Regions from separate parts of the Homo sapiens genome. Here region 1 is linked to region 2. The links are contacts of gene promoters, found by promoter capture Hi-C in blood cells and fetal thymus (Javierre and others, 2016). All regions are on one chromosome and are shown on one strand. Each heading gives the region's core, a stretch centred on a gene start or on the middle of the fragment in contact. The rest is flanking DNA. Distances are from core to core; before and after follow the strand shown.

What was found. The method cuts DNA at HindIII sites, captures the fragments that hold promoters and counts their contacts. A CHiCAGO score of 5 or more calls a contact.
Region 1: a contact is called between a fragment that was not itself captured here and the fragment with the promoter of CD200R1L-AS1 in region 2, in 1 of 17 cell types (total CD8 T cells). The highest score is 5.3, in total CD8 T cells.

Annotation. Positions count from the first base shown.
Region 1 is chr3:113,039,331-113,045,627 of GRCh38, reverse strand. The region is part of intron 1 of NEPRO-AS1 (NEPRO antisense RNA 1); the gene reads right to left. It also overlaps the pseudogene DNAJB1P2. Among named protein-coding and RNA genes, the nearest start is that of RMP64, 23 kb to the right of the region's middle. The HindIII fragment of the contact is 1,888 bases long and covers 1,050-2,937 here.
Region 2 is chr3:112,798,798-112,805,154 of GRCh38, reverse strand. It overlaps CD200R1L-AS1 (CD200R1L antisense RNA 1), which reads right to left and starts at 2,677. Exons shown (of 3, transcript NR_149027.1): 1 at 2,507-2,677. The HindIII fragment of the contact is 7,448 bases long and covers 1,533-6,357 here.

The sequences.
Region 1 (6,297 bases), core at 744-3,243, 240 kb before region 2:
CTAAATGCCATGTAAATGACTTTCTGTCTTTCAGGCGTCTTTTGAAATGTGAGAGTTCATAACATTTCAGATACTGTCAATTCTTGATTTACCTCTGCCCTTTACACATGAGATTTCTGCCTTTTTCCTCAAAATACTCTTCTCTCACCAAGCCAAAAACAGTAAAACAAGAGAGGAGGAATAACTGTTTTATTGGCTCTCCCTGTCACTATATTCTCCTTAAGTCACCAATGCTACTCATTTCATGTCATACTCCATTCGGGCTGCTACAACAAAAATACCATAAACTGGGTGGCTCATAAGCAACAAATATTTATTTCGTACAGTTCTGGAGGCTGGGAAGTCCAAGATCAAGCTGCCCACAGATTTGGTATCTGGGGAGGGTTCATTTCCTGCTTCATAGTTGGTGCCAGGGTTCATTTCCTGCTTCATAGTTGGTGCCTTCTCACTGTGTCCCCAAAAGGTGAAAGGGGCTAATGAGCTACCTTGGGTCTATCTTACAACGGCACCAATTCCATTCATGAGGGCTCTTACCTTTGTGACCTAGTTACCTCCCCAAAGGCCCACCTCCTAATATCATCACCTTGGAGGTTAGGATTTCAACGTAAGGATTTTGGAGGATATAATATTCAGATCACAGCTTTTGATGAATTTCTTTTTTTTTTTTGAGACGGAGTCTCACTCTGTTGCCCAGGCTGGAGTGCAGTGTTGTGATCTCAGCTTACTGCAACTTCTGCCTCCTGGGTTCAAGCAATTATCTTGCCTCAGCCTCCGAGTAGCTGGGATTACAGGCACGTGACACCATGCCCAGCTGATTTTTGTATTTTTAGTAGAGACGGGGGTTTCACCATGTTGGCCAGGCTGGTCTTGAACTCCTGACCTCAGGTGATCTGCCCACCTCAGCCTCCCAAAGTGCTGGGATTACAGGTGTGAGCCACCACACCTGGCTTGATGAATATTTATTGTGTACCTATTATATGCCAGATATACTGCTGGGTACTAAAAGTCAATAATTAGCAAGCATACATGGTCCTTTTTCTTAAAAAGCTTTTACTGGCTGTAGACAGCCAATTAAGCCATAGAATACAACCCTTAATGTATAATAAGAAGAGCAGTACACCACAAATATCAACCTAGCCTTTGGTATAAGGCAATCTGGATTGAAATCTGGGCTCTGTTGAATACTTGCCATGTGACCTTGGGCTACTTAACCTCTTTACACTCAGTTTTTGAAATAAATATATTCCTAGTTCACCTAATGGTCCCAGCAGGTGTTCCTGGTGTGCAATGGCTTTTCTCCAGGCCATAATTCCTTCTTGTGATTTTGCCATCCCCTAGGGCTTCATCCTCACAGCTGAAGGGGAAATAGAGAGTGTGAAAGAGGGACAGATGTTTTTTAAAACGCACTGGTCTGGAAATGGCATCCATTGGCTAGAACTCAGTCATTTGGCCAAATGTGGTTCAAGAAAGGCTAGAAAAAGTAGCTCAGCTGTGCACCCAGGAATAAGAGGAGAACATGGATCTTGCTGAACACCTAGAAGTATTTGACACAACCTTTGTAAGCCACGTTAAGTAGTTCAGATTTATCATGGAATTAATAAGCCAGTGAAAGCAAAGGAGTAAAATCATCATATTTTTCATTTTTGGAAAATCATTCTATCAGCAGTGAAAAGAATGGCTTGGGTGATTGATTAGATAACTGAGTGGGTAGTAATGTTATTCAGTGAGATACACGAAGAGGTGTGAGTTTTCAGGGAGGAGAGTGGGAGGTGAGTTCAACTGAAGACACATTGAATATGAGGTGCTTCAAGATCATCAGATATACAGAGATGTGCTCTAGTTACATACCCTGAAGTCTAAAGTTCAGGAAAGAAATCTGAAATAGAGGTATACCTTTGTGAATTTTCAACTTATAGATGGAGCTTTGGGAGTTTGTAAAACAAACAAACAAACAAACAAAAAAAACCAAAACAAAAAAACACCAATACAAAGGAAAGGACAGAGGAAGAGGAACCAGCAAAAGAAACTGAGCAGGAGCATCCTGTAGAGGGAAAAGTGGCCAAATATGCTGCCACACATGCCACAGGAAAAGATTATTTCAAGGAGGCAGTGGTCAACAATACCAAGCAAAACACTGACTTTTATAAAAAGGAGGTTGTGGGTGAATGTTCTGGTTATTCTGTGTATCCACCATTCTCCCCTCTTCCCTGTGTCCCTGAAGGCTGAGCTCTGTAGACTTTATCACTTAGGCTCCCTTGCCCTCTAGCTTTCAGCTGGGTTTGGCCAATGGAAAGCAATGACAGATGGGATGAATGAAACAGAGAGAGCAGAATATTTTTCCCCAGTTCCATACAGCTTTAGTGTCTTATCTTAGGCAGTAAGTCCACCACTCCTTGACATCAATTCCTACCAGGTGTCCTCTTCTCCCCGGTTCTCACTCTTACTGTTCTATTTCCTCCTCTTGTCTCTTTGGCCCTAGGAATGATAATGGCTTCCTACTGTCACTGCGCTTGGAGTGCCTCACGATTCCATTTTTGATGCCTTCATCCTGCCTATATCTCTGTAAGCAGCTTCTTCCCTTGAACCATGTGGGATGAATTCTGCTTTTTGCTGGTATGCTGACTGATCTTGTAATATTAGTATTTAGAAACTAAATTGCAATTGGTAGAAGGGTGAGTATTTGGTGAAGTAGGAGTTAGGCTTTCAAGGAGTTTGGCTGTGGAATTCATCATCTCTCTCTACTTTTCTGAAAGGAGAAAGGAAGGAGGAAAGGAAGGAAAGGGAGATAGGACAAGTGGAGAAACCTTGAGTGGAAAGAGTTTGTTTTTTCCAAGATGGAAGAGACCTGTTAATGTTTAAGTACTCATAGGAAAGACCCAATAGAAAGAATTTATTGTTGATGTAAGAAAGTAGGGGACTTATTAATTGCTTGAAGCTTATGAGAAGGCAGAAGGATTTGGGACACAGGATGCAAATGGGAGGATTTAACTTGGGTGAGGGGAGGGTCACCTTATCTGTTGTAAGTGAAAGAATGGAAGACAGGATGAGTGGGAGACAAGTAAGTTTGTAGGGTTGGTGTCAGAAAGTTGAGAGAGTTCTTATCTAAGGGTTCTGCTTTTTCTGGAATCCCAGAACATTCAGAGAGTAGAATTATTATAGAGTTGGGCATTTGCCTGGCAAATCTCATGGAAGTACAATGGGGCGAGGGAATTGAGAATGCTGGCAAGAAATGGACTGGGGACAAATAAAGATGAAGGTGGGGGTACTGATGAGAGAGAAAAGGGTGCTGGGGACTGGTGATTCAGTGCAGTTTAAGATCAGATTTATAGGGTGTAACTTGAGTAAGAAAGTTGGAAAATAGGAAACTATTGTCAGAAATGGAAATGTCTGAATTCATGATTTCAGAGAAGGAACAACTCTGATTGATGCTAAGATTTGGGATATGGCTGGAGAGTGCATGCCTGCAGTGAGGTCGATATGAAGGTTACTGGAGATGAGGACACTAAAGGAAGTGGGATGATGGAGGACTTGGGATGGAGAGGAACCAAAGTCTCTAAGATGGCTGCTTCCACAAGGGGAAAAGTACATGAGGAAAACATTTCTTCCCCATCCTAGGGGTCCCTGGCATCTTCCTAGTCATCCTAATGTAACATCCCATCACCTGTCTCCTTCAGGACCATGCCTGGTGGGAGCCCCTACCCCAGGCCTGGAAGCAGCTCCCTTCCACCTCCGTGCCCCCACCATGGCAAGGCTCATTGCTGAGGAAGTCCCGGCTCCCACTTTCCACATGGTGAGGAAACTGGTTCTAGTCAAGACAAGATCTGGACCATTGAAGTGAAAACACGGTGGAAAGAGGGACCAAAATGACCTTCCCCAAGCAAGGAAGGAGACCAAACCTCTAAAAACATTCCAGCTGACATCGTCTTTGTTTTAAAGGACAAGCCACATAGTATTTTTAAGAGAAATGGCTCTGATGTCATCTATCCTGCCAGGATCAGCATTTGGAAGGCTCTGTGTGGCTGCACAGTGAACATCCCACTCTGGACGGAAAGACCATACCCATCGTTTTCAAGGAAGTCATCAGGCCTGGCATGCAGTGAAAAGCCCCTGGAGAAGACTTCCCTCTCCCTAAAGTGCCCAAGAAATGTGGGGACTTCATTATTGAGTTTGAAGTGATCTTCCCCTAATGGATTCCCCAGATGTCAAGAACTGTACTTGAGCAGGTTCTTCCAATATAGCTACCTGCATTCCCCAAGGACTAACCAGGAAGCTTTCCAGAGCTCAAGGATTTCTGGACCGTTCTCCAGTTGACCATGAGAGGACAGGTGGGCCCAGGGAAGTCTTTCAGACTGCCGAATGTTTTCCATGGACTATATTACAATCTTTCAAAGTCATGCACTAGAGTGGGGGAAAAAAAAAGCTCCCACTTTGGCTGCCAAGGCTTGTTGGGGTGGAGGGTAACACAAGATGAGGAAAGATATGCTCCTGCTATCTTGCCCTTGACCATGGAAAGCACTTTTCTGTAGCAATTCTGGGATCCAGAGTTGGTCTCTATGGAATGACTGGTAGGAATATCGTGTCTGGTTGCAGTAGAGTGGCTTTGGTGGGCTGGCCCTGGATCTTTAACATCATCCTTTACATTAATTTTGTCAGAGAATGCATTCAGCTTCAAACAATGGACTTAGAAATAGCTTTTGTAAATTAGGGATTGTGTTAAATTGCATGCTGGCCTCTGAATACCTCAGAAAATAGATTGCTATCAACAGGTGTTTCTTCTCTATGTTTCTATGAGGTTCTAGGAGTTGAGATAGGAGATGGATTGTCAACAATGATCCTTGCTAAATGACCACTTTGTGTTTATCACTGAGATATTTTAACATTTAAAAAATAATGTCATCTTATAGAGGTAATTTATGTTCACTGAACAATTCAGAAAATTAAAAGAATAGAAAATAAAACTCTTCTGTATTCCTACTAACTGGAAATAACTATTATTAATATCTTAGCATCATTTTTTACTCTGGGTACACATCCCTATTTGCCCCTTTCCCAACTTGGAGTCATCATATATAACCAGTTTTATTATCTTCTTTATTCATTTAATAAAATGTGAGCACTGTGGAGTCCTGTTAAGATGAGTAAGCAACAATGGAGAAGGGGTCCCATGTCGGGGAGAACAATTGTTCTGAGACAGCTAACCACAAACAACTGCTGGTACAACTACCTCACTCTGCACGTAGCCCCAGCAGTATGACCTCGTTTTACACATATCCCTTCCAGCACAACCCTATAAAACTTTCCTCCAGCCCCTGCCTCTTTGCAGACAGCCCCTTCTCTGCTGTGCTGCCCATTGCACCCTTGCGATGTATCTTCATACTTTCTGTAATAAATCTGCCTTTCTTTACCTATAACTGTCTTGGTAAATTCCTTTACCACCTGCAACGCCAGCCCCAGCCAGTCAGACATGCAACGAGCACTTCTCTGGGCCATTAAACATTTGTTTTTTAAAAAATGATTGTAGCAAAGTCTTCTAGTTGTTCACTATTTTTTCTTCTTTCTTCCTTTTTTCTTTATCTTTTTTTTTTTTTTTTTTTTTGAGACACAGTCTCGCTCTGTCACCCAGGCTGGAGTGCAATGGTGCTCTTGGCTCACTGCAACCTCTGCCTCCTGGGCTCAAGTGATTCTCGTGCCTCAGCCTCCCAAATAGCTAGGATTACAGGCATGCACCGCCATGCTCGGCTAATGTTCGTATTTTTAGTAGAGATAGGGTTTCACCATGCTGGCCAGGCTGGTCTTGAATTCCTGGCCCAAGTGATCCGCCCACCTTAGCCTCCCAAAGTGCTGGGATTACAGGCATAAGCCACCATGCCTGACCTATTTCCTTCTTCCTGGATATGCAACTAGACTATGTTTCCTGGCCTCCCTTGCAGTTAGGTGTAGCCAAAGGAATGTGAGTGAATATAATGAGTGTATTCCTGGGCCAATGCTTGTAAGAGGCAGGTGTGTCCTACCTCTATGTTATCTGTTCCCCCTTCTTATAGCTGGATGCAGATGATGACAAGGCCCTAGGGGATTTCAAAGTCACAGGATGGGAACCTAAAATTTGAATAATCATGTGTTGAACAAGATGGGGAAAACAGGTGAGAATAAACATCTAATGTGTTTGATCCACTACATATTTTGGATCTGTTCTTTATAGCCATTTTGCTTACCCTGTTTTTCATTCTATGGGCATACTATAATTTCTAAGAGGAAATATTTTTGTTTGTTTGTTTTTTGAGACAGAGTTTTGCACTG
Region 2 (6,357 bases), core at 1,428-3,927:
TAAGCTGATCATTAAACCATTGGTAGCTGGAAGTAGGACATAGTAAGAATACTTACACCACACTGCAAATCAGGGTTCCCTTTTTACCCATCACAATAAAGAAGCAACTAATCAACATATCACAGGACCTGTAGGAGGTATATGATGGGGATGTCTTAGAAGATGGTCCTATGATCTACAGTTTACAACAACCTAGTGGTGCGAGTAGTGGTGGAGAAAGCTGAACATCACTGGAGACAAAGCTGGCTCGGCCAACTGAAGGCAATGCTCACAGGACAGAGAAAATTAGTCCAGGGAGAAATTCAGGGATTAAAGCCAAGAACACTTTTTTTAAAAGTAAGAAAGATGACCACAGACCGGAGTTGGATGGTATATAGCATAAAAAGCAATTTGGGATTTAAAAAGGAGACTGGAGCCAATACTTATAGAGGCATCTGCTTCACATACCTTAATCATTTTATCAATCTGCTGAGGCAGGTAGGTGTTAACGTTTAATCTATTTTACAGTCAAGAACATTGAAACTCCAATATTAAGTGGTGGAGACAAGATCCTAACTCAGATTGTTCCACAACATCATTATCTCTTACATCTTATTTTTGTAGAAAGTAGAAAAGGGGAAGAAAGAACAAGAGGAAGAAAAGAAGAAGAAGAAGAAGAAGAAGGAGAAGGAGAAGGAGAAGGAGAAGGAGAAGGAGAAGGAGAAGGAGAAGAAGAAGAAGAAGAAGAAGAAGAAGAAAGAAGAAAGAAGAAGAAGAAGAAGAAGAAGAAGAAGAGGAAGGAGACATAGTAGTGGAGTTGTTCTAGGACCAGAAATCTCCAGAAGGAGCAGGAAAGTGTCTGCAAAATTAGTGAAGAATGACATAAAATTCACTGGAGGAATATCTGAGAAGAAGGAAACTTCTTCACCCAAAGAGGAAGACAGGGTGACCTAAGAAATGGGTCTCGTAACTAAGTTTCTGCTGCAGAGTCAGGAAAGTGTGTGTGCAGATAGGAGAACTGCAGTCTCAGAGGGAACAAAGGAACATTTTTATAAATTAGACCAAAGCTATCATGTATAGTTGAGAGGTCCATACAGCTATTCTACATTCCTGCTGAAGGGCCTGAAGAAAATTGGTAGGGATTTTTCACTGGCTTGAGACTGACTGAAGGGAAAGTGTGCTCCCCTTCAACTTCACCTTACTCCTATTACCTTTTTTGGGACCTCCAGTTCTTCAATCTGGTACTCTTTGAGCATGAAGAACGAGCATTGAGGAATGATATTATGTACTCCTGGAGGGCAGGAGGTTGGCCTTCTTATCTGGTATGTTTCTTAACAGCATGACATATTGGATGAACAAAAATTACGTTTAAAATAAATATGTTGAACAGACAACTAAAGTCTCTTCTAAAAATAAAATTGGCTTCAGGTTCTATAGTTCTACCTCTGTGGTCTCATTGCACAAACATATGTTTTAGATCTTAGGCTATTAAAGACATCTGTCCTGACCTATTATTTATAACCAATGGAAATGAAAAATGCAACCCAAAAGCTTAAAGAATTTGCCTGAGGACTATAAATGGAGCACATGCAAGCTGTTAGATGGCCAAGTTGAGGACCCAGAAATAAGCACCAATTATTCAATCAGACGATGTGGTTCATGACCCCATAGGGGACTCTTTCCTTCCTGCTGTGTAACTCAAAGGATCTGAGACTGTGGGCCCAGACTAAGTCAGAACTTCAAGTGTTGTTTTCTTCTTGTTTTCATTCTGGCTCAAAATCCAGAGGATGTTGAAGCATGGGCAGCCTCCTATCTCTCTCTTTCCAGGAGTAGCTACAACTCTTTTGAAGTTTGTGATGCAGGTTAAACTGTTCTGTTCCTTTGCCTAGGCAAAGAAAAGTACTATCAGGTGAAATGAGATAGCTGTTGAAATTCAGTATTCACATGTTTCCTAGCTCAGAATGCTGAAAAATAAAGTATGAAAGATTCCAATCAAAGGAAGAGATTGAATCACCTTCTGTTCCAGATGGGGCCTCACAATAGTTACAACTGCTTGTTCTGGACACATTTGTCCATCCTCGCTTACAGATGCAGCACCATCCATGAAATGCTTGAGACATCCAGGAGGTGGGCAGTGGATAAACAGAATATATTCATTATTGTAACTGAGAATGCTTTTATTCCCCCTGTCTCTCCCACAGAGTTGGTATAAACATATAAAAGACTCTTGAGTTTGAACTCGTATGTGCCCAGTCTCAACTTTAACAATTTATTTCCCTTTATTTCATAATTAAAAAACTGAAAAAAACTAAAGGTCTGACAATGGTTCTAAATTTTTTTCCTCTTTCAGGACAGTGATAGGGAAAAAAACCCACTAGAATTTGTTAATGAAATACTGCCATTATAGAAACCTAACTGACCAAAAACCAGAAGATCTGTGTTCTAATGCTAGGTTTTAGGTACTTAGCTTTCCCACACCTTAATTTACTCATCTGTAAAAGGAGGAGTTTAGATTAGATAATCTTACCTAAGTTACTTCTCCTCTAAGATCCTATGTTTCTGTGGCATCTGGGTATAACTGCAGAACTTTAGAAGAAAAGTCTGGACCCAAAGGTAGGGGTTTTAGATCTGACTTTGTACATTTTGTGGTTTTATTTCCTCATTTCTAAGAAATGGAGATTAGTGTCTATCATTTGGTGACAAGTGTAATGTGAGATTAGATATTTCCTTGTGTAAGTAATTTGCAAGTAAAATGGTCTATACAGATGGAAAAAAGTCCCCTTCCCAAGATATTAAAGCATATTAAAAAGCTAGAGTAATTAAGCAAATGTGGCATCTATGCAGGAAAATGCAAATAGATTCAAAGAATAAAGTCTAGAGAAGACTTATGTATATATTGACAGGTAGTTTATTGAAGAAAAATACACATAAGCAATACACTCATGAAAAGGTAATATATATTTCTACTAATCTAATAAATACAAATAAAAGCCACAATAAGATAACATTTTGTTCTCATTAAGCAAAAATGAAATATTTGCTATCAAATCTTGGTGAAAGTACAGGGAAATGGGTTCCATGATGCACTGCTGATGAGGGAATAAACTGGGACAGGCATGTGGAAAGGTAATTTGTTAGGGTTATAGCTTTTAATGTGTATATCCTAAGATCAGTAATTACTTTTTTCATATCTACACATGTACCTAAGAAGGTATGAACAAATATATTCATTGCAACAGTATCTATAAGAGCAAAATATTTGAAATGACTCACTTGTAACTCAGTAGGAAGGTGGTTAAACAAAAGGTAGCACATTCCAGCCTGACCAACATGATGAAACCCATCTCTACTAAAAATACAAAAATTAGCCAGGCTGTGGTGGCATGGTGTCTATAATCCTAGCTACTGGGGAGGCTAAAGCAGAAGAACTGCTTGAACTCAGGAGGCGGAGGTTGCAGTGAGCCTAGGTCGCGCCACTGCACTCCAGCCTGGGTGACAGAGGGAGACCTTGTCTTAAAAAAAAAAAAAAAAAAAAGTAGCACATTCATGCTACAGAGTGGTATACAACAGTTACAAAGAATGAGGTGGCTATCTGCAAACTGGCATGGAATTCCCCCTTAATACACACTGTAGAGTAAAAAGCTAGTCATAGAATAATTTGTATTATTTATGTACAAATACACACTTGTGAAACTATATAGCTCTATAGCACACATATGTGCTAAGAAATTCAGAGAAAAGAGTTCTGGAAGGATGCACAGTGAACTGGTAATAGTAGTCACCTTTAAGAAGGGGAGTAGTGATTAAGGAGACATAAACTTTATCCATAGAACTTATTTTTTTAGTGAGATTGTATTCATGTATAACATAAACATTAAAGAAATTTTTTTTGTTTGTTTTTTAAAGGGAGATAAGACAATAAAGTTGGCTATTTCCCATTCAGCCAAACTAAAATCTAACAAGAATTATTTTCCTCCAAGCCACATTATGTAAATTTCCATGCATACCCCATGTGCTAGAATACCACGCAACTCACTGAGTGTGAACCCTTCAAGAACTCAGGCTATTACAGGCCTTATCTTTTGATTTACCCAACAATGCAGCCAAGTGGCTATAACATTTGATTTCTAGAGTATTCAGAAACTGTTACTCAGATTCTGAGTAAAGGTAGTTCTGGGATTTAAACTATTATGGAATTGTTTCATCTGATTGAACTTGCAAGCATAAAGTCACAGAAGACAGTGGTGTTTCTCCAGAGAAATAATTATCCTAATCATTACTGTTACTAGTGTACTGTTGTGGAGTTGCTGTTTGCCTTTACATATAAAGTGCTCTCTTAGAGAAGACTAGAATTCCAAAGCCCAGCTAGAATTCTTCCACTGAATTTTTAAAAGACTATCTATTCCATCAGAAGTTAGTAATTTGAGAAAACACAAATACATGCTTAACAATGGTAATTACTTTTAGAGACAGAAAGCATGCAGAATGTGAAGGTTGGGGATACACAAAGATGAAATTTGTTAGCCTTCAACAATCCTAGAAAGTAGAGAGAGAAGATACTATGATGCCCCATTTTGTACATTAGGAAAATAAGACTCATTATGTCACATTGCAAGAATTCTATCAAAACATCTCATGTATCTCATAAATATATACAGCTACTATGTACCTACAAAAAAAATAAATAAATAAGACTCAGAAAAGGTGAGAAATTTGTTCAGAGCCACCCAGCCAGTAGCAAGTTCAATTTCGTTTTTTCCTTGGCTGAAAATCTAAAACTTTTTTCTCTTCCATTATGTCCCCTACCATCTTGAAATTTGGATATAAAATTTGAAGACACATGTCCAAGTTGATCTACTGTCAGCTGATATTTTACCTAATATCTTTGAGTGCTTCCTAGGCATCTGGCTCCATTCCAGAGTCATTCATAATATTCCCTTAAATCTTATCAGAACTCTGTGAGTTACAGTATTATAATCCCTGCTTCACAAATGAAGAAAGGGAGGCCTAGAAACTAAACAGTTTACTCATGCCACCTCACCAGGAAGTAGTGGAGTAAATATGCAAACCTACAACTTCTGGCTCAACTAAGTGCTTTTCCTTCTAACATTGGTATTTTAATATTCTCAAGGAAGAGCTCTCATCAGCAGACAATACAAACCTTGAATAAGGTTTACCCCCAAATAGACACATGCCCTTCAGTCTAGGTTAACTGCATTTTGTAGGACACTTGTCAAGCGAATCAGTGTAGCTTGGAGTGTTTTTATATGTGGCTGGGAGCCATCTGGTCATATTAGAAAAACAAACCATTTCTAAATAATGTCATGTGTGAGCCAACAAGAGATCCATTCTTTCGCTTCTTCTCAGGGGGCCTCCTAACCTCCTCTACTGGAATGAGTGTTAAGGCTCTCCTTATACTGACCCAGAGTAATTTGTTTTAGTAATGTCTGAGCACTCTGAGGTAATGGTCTTAATGACCTCCACTAGTGCTTTTAAGGGAGTAAGAACCATGAATAAGTAGAACATTTTAATATTTTTCTTTTTTTCTACATTTAAAAATAACTAGCAAATTGACTGTCTAACAGTGAATTAGGATGCATGTCACCATAAACCTCAGGAAAGGGAATTTGAAAGAATATAGTTACAGGGCAAATTTGAAAATGGCAGACATCTTAGAGAAAAAAAGAGCAAGAAAGAGAATAATAACAGACTACTTTCCTAGACTGCTAACTTGTATGAATGATGAAAACATTGTTTATGGGTGTTTACGTATACCAGGCATTTTATAGGAAGTAACTAATTCCATCCTCATAAAAACCCAGTGAAGTAGGTTTGTCTTATTAGTTCCATATTATAGATGAAGAAGCCGAAGCTAGAAAGTGGCAAGGCTAGAATTCAAACCCAAATCTATCTCTGCCTTTAAAAGTTAGGTCTCCTTTTCACACCAGCTCCCACACTGAGGGCAGAGCATGGAATCCACACTAGTGGGTTCCTGAGTATTGTTGAAAAAGGAGCTCAGGGTAAAAATTTGGGAGAGTTTCTCATTCTTCCCAAATGGGCTTCAGAATTGTCTTCATTCTTCTATCTGAAAAGGAAGTTCTTGGGAGCTCAGTCACAGCCATGGTCAAAAGGAAGAGATGCATTCAGAAGCTGACAAGCAGCCCTTCACTTTGCCAACTTGGAGAGAGGGTGTTGGTCTCTGTGGGTACCTTTAAAAATTTATAAAATGTAATTGCTTCTCTTTTGGATATAAGCCATTTTAATTGCATAAGATGGTATTTCATTATAGCTTTAGTTCTGATTTTCTTTTATCTGATGATCAATAATGTTGAGCACTTTTTTCCTCGTTTTTCTTTTTCTTTTTTTTTGAGCCAGAGT